Regions from separate parts of the Homo sapiens genome. Here region 1 is linked to region 2. Evidence: promoter capture Hi-C in 16 types of primary human blood cells and fetal thymus (Javierre and others, 2016). All regions are on one chromosome and are shown on one strand. Each heading gives the region's core, a stretch centred on a gene start or on the middle of the fragment in contact. The rest is flanking DNA. Distances are from core to core; before and after follow the strand shown.

Region 1 (3,749 bases), core at 462-2,961, 600 kb before region 2:
CCCACAGCTGTCCTTTCATGATATGACCTGGCATGCTGCCAGGAGGGCCTATTTATCAACAGTGACAATATAAAGGACAGCCATGTTCTCTTCTTAGTCTTCAGTGGGAGACACATTTGGCCAGAAGTATACCGTTCTGATTTACAGTGCCCAAGAGAAGCGCTTTGCCATTTCAGCCTCATTTTCTCACAAAAACCTAGTACATGGAGTTGCTGCACTATTTGGCTCATATAATAATGTTTTTTTTAAAAAAAATTTTAGTCATTTATTTTTGAGACAGAGTCTCACTCTGTCACCCAGGCTGGAGTGCAGTGGCGTGATCTTGGCTCACCGCAACCTCTGCCTCCTGGGTTCAAGCAATTCTCCTGCCTCAGCCTCTCGAGTAGCTGGGATTACAGGCAGGTGCCACCACACCAGGCTGATTTTTTTGGTATTTTTAGTAGAGATAGGGTTTCACCATGTTGGCCAGGCTGGTCTGGAACTCCTGATCTCAAGTGATCCACCTGCCTCGGCCTCCCAAAGTGCTGGGATTACAGGCGTGAGCCACTGTGCCTGGCAATAATGTTTATATTAGTTGTTCTTCATTTCAAACCTTGACTCAGACCCCACCTAGGTTTCTGGTTGCTGAAGAGAATGAAGTTGTCAACTCTTTTGTCGTTATGAGAGTAGATCTATTACACTGGTATGTGGCCTGGGATAATTACATGTACTCGATCTCAGATTTGCATGATGGGGTTCATTCACATGGTGGGCTTTGGTGAGTTTGGACCACCCAGCTTCAGCACACCTTCCAAACAGCCAATCAGGTGCCTATTCTGCCCTAGCCAGGTGGCAGCCAGATGACCCCAGCTGGCCCGATTGCACATCCTCCCTGGAATGTGAATTTTAAGCAGAATGATGTGGAGTCTAAACATGGTGAAAGATCATTAAGATGAGGGTGGTGTCCTTATGAGACCATTCCTCCAATGGCTCCTTTCCCACAGTTCTGCTTCTAGCCCAGCGGCCCATTTCCAAAGCTGGCTGGCTGGTCTCTCCCTCCACCTGTACATTCCTGCTATCCTTACTATAACTTCCCTCTGCTGGGTCTGTTTTGGTGGCTTGCTAACAGTAAACACTAACTGACACAGCCTGTCTTAATATGGCTGTGTGATTTGAGGGACATCAGAAGAGAACCCCTGACCTTACCATGGTGCTAGAATTCCTTTCTTACTCATTCCTTTGGATGAAGACATTGAAAGCTGCTATTATAAAACAGCAACTATTACTTAGGAAAGGTTACACTTGAAGCTGTTTATTTGCTATGCCTGAGTTATATTGTAAGGATCGTCTCCCTTGTCAGAGACCAATGGAATGGGACATAGGATAAGTAAATGTTGATGGGGAGAATTGGGAGGGAATGAAAGGTCTGCAAGATTGGATTCTTCGAGATCTTAAGGGTGACTGAATTGGAAGGTTCTGGGTACCCAGAAAGAAGCATGAGTTCATAAAACACCAGGGAGGAGAAGAAATGGAGCAAAGAGGGAGTAGGAGGAGATCCTGGAAACAGCTCTGCTGTTTGCCTGGTGGCAGCCACACACATGCAGTCACAAGGGGGCACTGCTGGAACTCTGAGAGAAGACTCCAAAAAACTGATGCAAGTGGAAAGCCGTTCACATTCATCAGGAGAGCTGGGTGAGGATAGCCTGGACTAATCCTAGGAGGAAAAAGACTTTTAAAAGAAGTAACAGGGATAGAAAAGGGAGACGTAGAAACTTCCATCATTGTCCAGAAAGACTAATAGATGTGGGGCAGGTGAGAGTTCCAGGCTCTTGAGCAGCAGGAATATTTCCTCAAACTTCAGCCCCTGGGCCCGTTGAACTTCCTCTCCAGATTCCCATGCCATTCACCTCCAGCAGCCTGGATGGCAGGCCAGTGAACACCCACAACAAAAGTCATCCGTGGCTGGATTATACCTGAGTCTGTGTAGCTTCAGCCACAACCTACCTGGCGCTGAGAGCTGAATTCACTCTAGGTGTCCCGAGTCATTCAGCACAATGTCAGACAGAAGAGGTTCATCTTAAGGGGTAGGGGGAGTAATACTTTTATTTTTGAAAGAAGTTCTTACTGAAGTATGACACATATATAGAAAAGTCAGTGTACAAATCGTAAGTGTACTGCTTGTTAATTTTCACAGTGAACATGTCCATTCAAAAGGCACCATGAAGCAGAATTACCAGCCCCCCAGAAATTCTCCCCTTGTGTTCCCTTCCAGCATCCCGCCCCCACCACGGGTAAAAGCATAAACAGAATCCCAACTTTACCGCTATAGATTAATTTTGCCTGATTTTGAAACTTAAGTAAATGGAAGTGTACAGTATGTACTTTCTGGCTTCTTTTGATCAATTACATATTTTTGAAATTTGTCTGTGTTGCTGTGGGCAGCGTTAAGCTATTCATTCTCATGTCTTCATAGTCCTTTATTGAATGAATACACTACAGTGCATCCATTCTAACAATGGACATTATGGATATTTGGGTTGTTCCACTGGGACTAATACAAATAGTGCTACTATTCATTTCTATTAGGTATATACCTAGCAGTGGAATTCTGGGTTGGTAATGCTATTTTTGGTCATAAATGATGACCAAAAATTTTAACCATAAATTGACAATGCCAAGTCTCTTGTATGATTTGTGTACCTGAAAAAGGCAATTTCAAATGTGTTTTGAGCAACATTGTCATTAAAATAAATATATAGGCCGTCAAAGAAATTATTGAGAAAGAAAGGGTAATTAGCTCTTACCTAATGACATTCAGCACTCTTAGTGGCCACAGAGTGGAGGAAACCAAACCAAACAAACAAATAAGACAACATAGAAATGTAAAACAATTTATATGACACTACCAAATTGATTAAAGATATACACAAGATAATTATTTTGGTCAAAAATATGCATATGTAACCCCTCTATCTTATGCATATGTAACCTTTCTGTCTTAAGCCCACTTAGGGGCAGCTCTTTCTGGCCCCAGGCAGACTCACCACCACACCATACTACTGCCTCCCAAGATGTAAGTCTATACTACTGCCTCCCAAGATGTAAGTCTATACTACTGCCTCCCAAGATGTAAGTCTATTTTACATCTATAAATCATTTTACAGATTTTTTTCATGTGCATATTAATACTAGAATTTTTTATGAAGCATAGATATGACATTTAAAAATGCCAGATTTCTAAAAAGGTCAACCTAGAACCCCATTCTCCACACACAAAAAGGACCCTTGCTTGTATGTACAAAAATCCCAAAGTTCATATTACCTTACCATTCCTTGACCAGACAGAATGATGAAGCTGCATCTACACAACTCCAGGACAACACTTTGAATAGAGACAGAACACAGCTATTTAGTATCTGTAGTCATGGTCTGATGGAATTAAAGAGAAAAAAGGTTGAGTTCATTTACGTTGGTTTTTTAGATGTTGACCCAGTCTAAGCCTTTTTGACATTTTTAGAGGGCCTCAGACTTGTCAAAGGAGTTTTTTTTGTATCCCAATTAAAATCAATGTACTGAGATAAATTCACCAACATTCAATAAAAGCCAGTTTTAAAAATAGAAATGTGTCTAGCCACTACCTCTACCCCCTATTCCTTCTTGGGGAGAAACTATCGGTGCTTTAGATTGTCAGGCTGATAGCTTTCCACCTTCCATGAGAACTGCCTTTACCCGAAATTATGCTAAATAGTCATTATCCAATTCATCCTGTC
Region 2 (3,735 bases), core at 1,080-3,579:
TAGAAGAGTGAGGGCTGCTTTGAAAATTGGTGTTATTTCTACATTTGTTATGAAGCATTATCCTTACTTGTCAGTCAATTCACATAGGGTGGAGTAGGGTGTTGGGGGTAGGAGGGGGTTACACCTCCAGTTATTAGAAACCAATTCTCTAAATTAAAGTACTTATTCTAATAACTCTTGAGAAATCTCCTTTAAATTTGCTTAAACATTTCCTGTGGTCTTTGTAGATAACCTCTAGTGGGAAAAAAAAAAAATTGAAGTGACCATGTTTGCCCTAAAGGCTTTGGTTAGTTCACAAAACCTGTTTCCGCAACCCAGAGTTGCTTCAAATAGACTTCCTCCCTTTACAAAGGCTTAATGATTTGTGTATTGAGTTGTTTCTTTCTGGGAGACATCTCACAAATACTCCAGTTGGGAAAAAGAGATAAATTGCTCCATCCAAAGTTTAAAAGAATTTCTTCAGGGTTTTGTAACTTGGACACTTGGTGTTCTGAAAAGAATGTCTTTGTGCCTATTTAAAATTGCAGAATCCTTTTCAGTTTGTTTCTAGGCTGTTATGCCAAAGAAGTAGCTCTGTAATCCCCATTTGTCTTCACCTGACATCAAATTCCACTTTGTGATGGAGAATTGTTCCTTGATTTGACATTCTTTTAAAGAAAAATGAGCCAGCATTGAATTCTTAGCTGAATACCAGTAGTTGGTGTATGTGTGTATGTGTTTCCAATTATAGACAGAACCTGGTATAGTACTTTCAGCTGAAATCTTTGATGAAGCATATGAAAATTACATTGATCCAGATGGGATAGAAAGCTGTAAGACTGGTTGCACAAAGCCCTCTGCAAGATTTGTCTTCTTTCTTAATGTTACACATCTTAAGCTCGAAAGAGAGAGAAACCTGAAGCAATCATGGCTTAAAATTCCCCAAGATGTCTCATTGGCTAATTTGGGTACCAAGTAGATTGTGGGGAAATGGGGACAGCTGGTGGTATTTAGTGTCAGTAATTAGGGATTCTCTTTAGGTTATAGAGAACTCTTAGATATAAAGGTGAGCTGCCTTGTCAGGGAAAGATGGCTTCCAACCCAGCTGTGGAAATAATCGGGCTGGGCACGATGGCTCAAGCCTGTAACCCCAGCACTTTAGGAGGCTGAGGCGGGCGGATCGCTTGAGCCCAGGAGTTGCAGACCAGCCTGGGCAACATAGTGAGACCTCATCTCTGCAAAAAATAAACAAAATTGGCCAGGAGCGGTGGTTCATGCCTGTAATCCTAGCACTTTGGGAGGCTGAGGCGGGCAGACTGACTGAGCTCAGGAGTTCGAGACCAGCCTGGGCAACACGGTGAAACCCTGTCTCTACTAAAATACAAAAAAAAAAAAAAAAAAATCAGCCAGGCGTGGCGGCGTGCGCCTATAGTCCCAGCTACTTGGGAGGCTGAGGCAGGAGAATTGCTTGAACCAGGGAGGCAGAGGTTGCAGGAAGCCGAGATCGTGCCACTGCACTCCAGCCTGGGGACAGAGTAAGACTCTGTCTCTAAAAATAAATAAATAAATAAAATAAAATTAGCTGGGCATGGTGGGACATGCCTGTAGTCCCAGCTACTTGGGAGGCTGTGGTGGGAGGATCCCTTGAGCGCGGGCAGTTGAGGCTACAGTGAGTAGTGATTACACCATTGCAGCCCAGCCTGGGTGACAGAGCAAGACCCTGTCAAAAAAAAAAAAAAAAAGAAAAAAGAAAAATGAAAGAAAAGAAATGACCACATCATGAGAAATCTAGACATAAAGTCTTTAACTTTGTATATCCACTGCAGAATCATGCAATGCCCAGTGTGAGGGAATGGAGTAGGATAGGAGAAAACTACCTGCCCCTGCTGGGAGTCAACAATTTTCTTAGATAAAACATAAAAGCACAATCCATTGATAAAAAGGATGCAGCTGGGCGTGTTGGAAGCACACAGGACATGGGAGGGAGCCTGGGCTCCACCCGCAGGGTGATGGCCATTCCACCCAAAGGGGCAGGAGTGGCTGGAACGAGCCTGGGGGCAAGGTCCTAGGCCCCGTTCACTTGGCCTCCATTCCTTAGGGCAGGGTCCCCTGGCACTCACCACTCCCGAGTCCTTGCTTCCTTCACCAGGATGAGGAGCTGGAATATCGTGGGGACAGAGGCCTCAGAGAGCCACCCAATGAGTCCACAGCAGCCATGGACAGTCCGTGAGGGGGAGGGTGTGCCTGCAGGGGGCGTGGCCCCATGCCGCCCGCCACCTGCATGCGCACTGGGCCGACCAATCAGCGAGGAGCGCGGGCAGCCGGGGCGGCTGCTGCTCTCGTGAGAACAGAGGACCCAGGCCCTCGGAGGAGCTTCGCGGTGCCAGCCTCTGCAGGTCCTCTGAGGGAGCAACATCAGGGCTCCCTCAGGTGAGACGCCCTCGGTGGGGATGCGGGGAAGGCGGGCCAGAGGCCCTTTGGGGAAGAGGGTGTGAAGGGCGGGGCAGCCAGGCTGATCTGTGAGGAAATGGCCCAGGCATTGTCGCCTGGGGCCTGGGTCAGGGCAGGGAGTTGGAGCTGCCTGAGTGGTCCCCAGGACCCAGGAGGGTCCCGGAGGCCTGTGCATGTGTGCAGCGTTTGGGGGGGGGTCGGGGGGTCAACGTGGGTCCGTCTTGTCTGGCTGCCCATCAGGACGGGATACTTGGGGTCACCAGGGGTCCCCTGGGCGTCCAGGCTGGCGAATGGGCAGTCCCTGCCCCTGTCAGAAACAGGTGCGTACCGGCTCATTCCCATGGAGATGGCTGGGGAGATCCTGTGTCACCCCGCGGCCCTCCCGACTCCACTGGGTCGCTGGGGAACCCAGGGGCAGGGCCAGGCTCTGTCCCAAGGGCACTGCAAGAATCCCGCAGAGGCCGCGGAATTCTGCGAGCTCTGCAGCCAGCCCCGGGGAAGCGCTGGACGGGCCAGGACAGGAGGGGATGATGGCATCTTCTCCGCGTCCCCTCCTGCTCCCACGGGAGACCCGGGGCGCCCTTGAACCTGCGATCCTGATGATTTTCATTTAACACGCCTCGTTTCCTTAGTGTCCTTAGTGTGTCTTTGCACTCACCAGGTTCAGAGGTCGCCTCTAGCTTCCCAGGCCAGTCAGCCACGGAGCCCGTGGGCAGGAAGGGCAGCAGGATGGCTGCCAAGGACCAGTTGGAGGTTCAAGTTATGGCCGCCCAGGAAATGGAGCTTGCAGGTAAACACAGCCCAAGGGGACCTAGAAGAAGGTGCACGCCCAACAGTCTGTCTGCTTTCTGGGCGGGGCGCACATGGGCAGCCCGAGGCCCCCGGCCCCTTCGTGGCTTTGGAGCTCACCGTGCATGTGCTGAGATGCCCCAGGTTTTCAAAGCAGGCTCAAGGGCCTTAGGCTTCCCGTGGGAGGCTCCCCCTCATAGCAGGGTTACAGATGCTCTCAGAGCAGCTCTTCTCCATGGATGCGGTCCTGACATCCAAGGGATCTGACCTGTGAACGTTGTTTACTGGGACTTGAACCCGAAGGGCTTCCAAAAATGCCTCCGTAAAATGGTTAGGAGCCGGCGATTCCATGTATAGCTCTGCGGTAAAGCTTTAATTGGCGGAGAGCCAAAAAAGTCTACAAATAGTACGTTTCTCTATGAAAAATGTCCACAACAGCGTCTTCCTCTAAAAAAGGTTTGTCTTTTTTATTTTAATGCAGGAAAGGATCCAGTAAGTCATGAGCATGAGGAAAGA

What was found. Contacts are between HindIII fragments. The CHiCAGO score rates a contact against its expected background, and 5 or more counts as called.
Region 1: a fragment that was not itself captured here is called in contact with the fragment with the promoter of FAM9C in region 2 in 1 of 17 cell types (non-activated CD4 T cells); the score reaches 5.5 in non-activated CD4 T cells.

Annotation. Positions count from the first base shown.
Region 1 is chrX:13,644,084-13,647,832 of GRCh38, reverse strand. No RefSeq gene overlaps it. Among named protein-coding and RNA genes, the nearest start is that of TCEANC, 7.2 kb to the left of the region's middle. The HindIII fragment of the contact is 5,934 bases long and covers 1-3,749 here.
Region 2 is chrX:13,043,214-13,046,948 of GRCh38, reverse strand. It overlaps FAM9C (family with sequence similarity 9 member C), which reads left to right and starts at 2,329. Exons shown (of 8, transcript NM_174901.6): 1 at 2,329-2,409; 2 at 3,092-3,220; 3 at 3,701-3,735. The coding sequence starts at 3,160. LOC105373133 (a long non-coding RNA gene) reads right to left here and starts at 2,216. Exons shown (of 4, transcript NR_171577.1): 1 at 2,100-2,216. The HindIII fragment of the contact is 8,868 bases long and covers 1-3,591 here.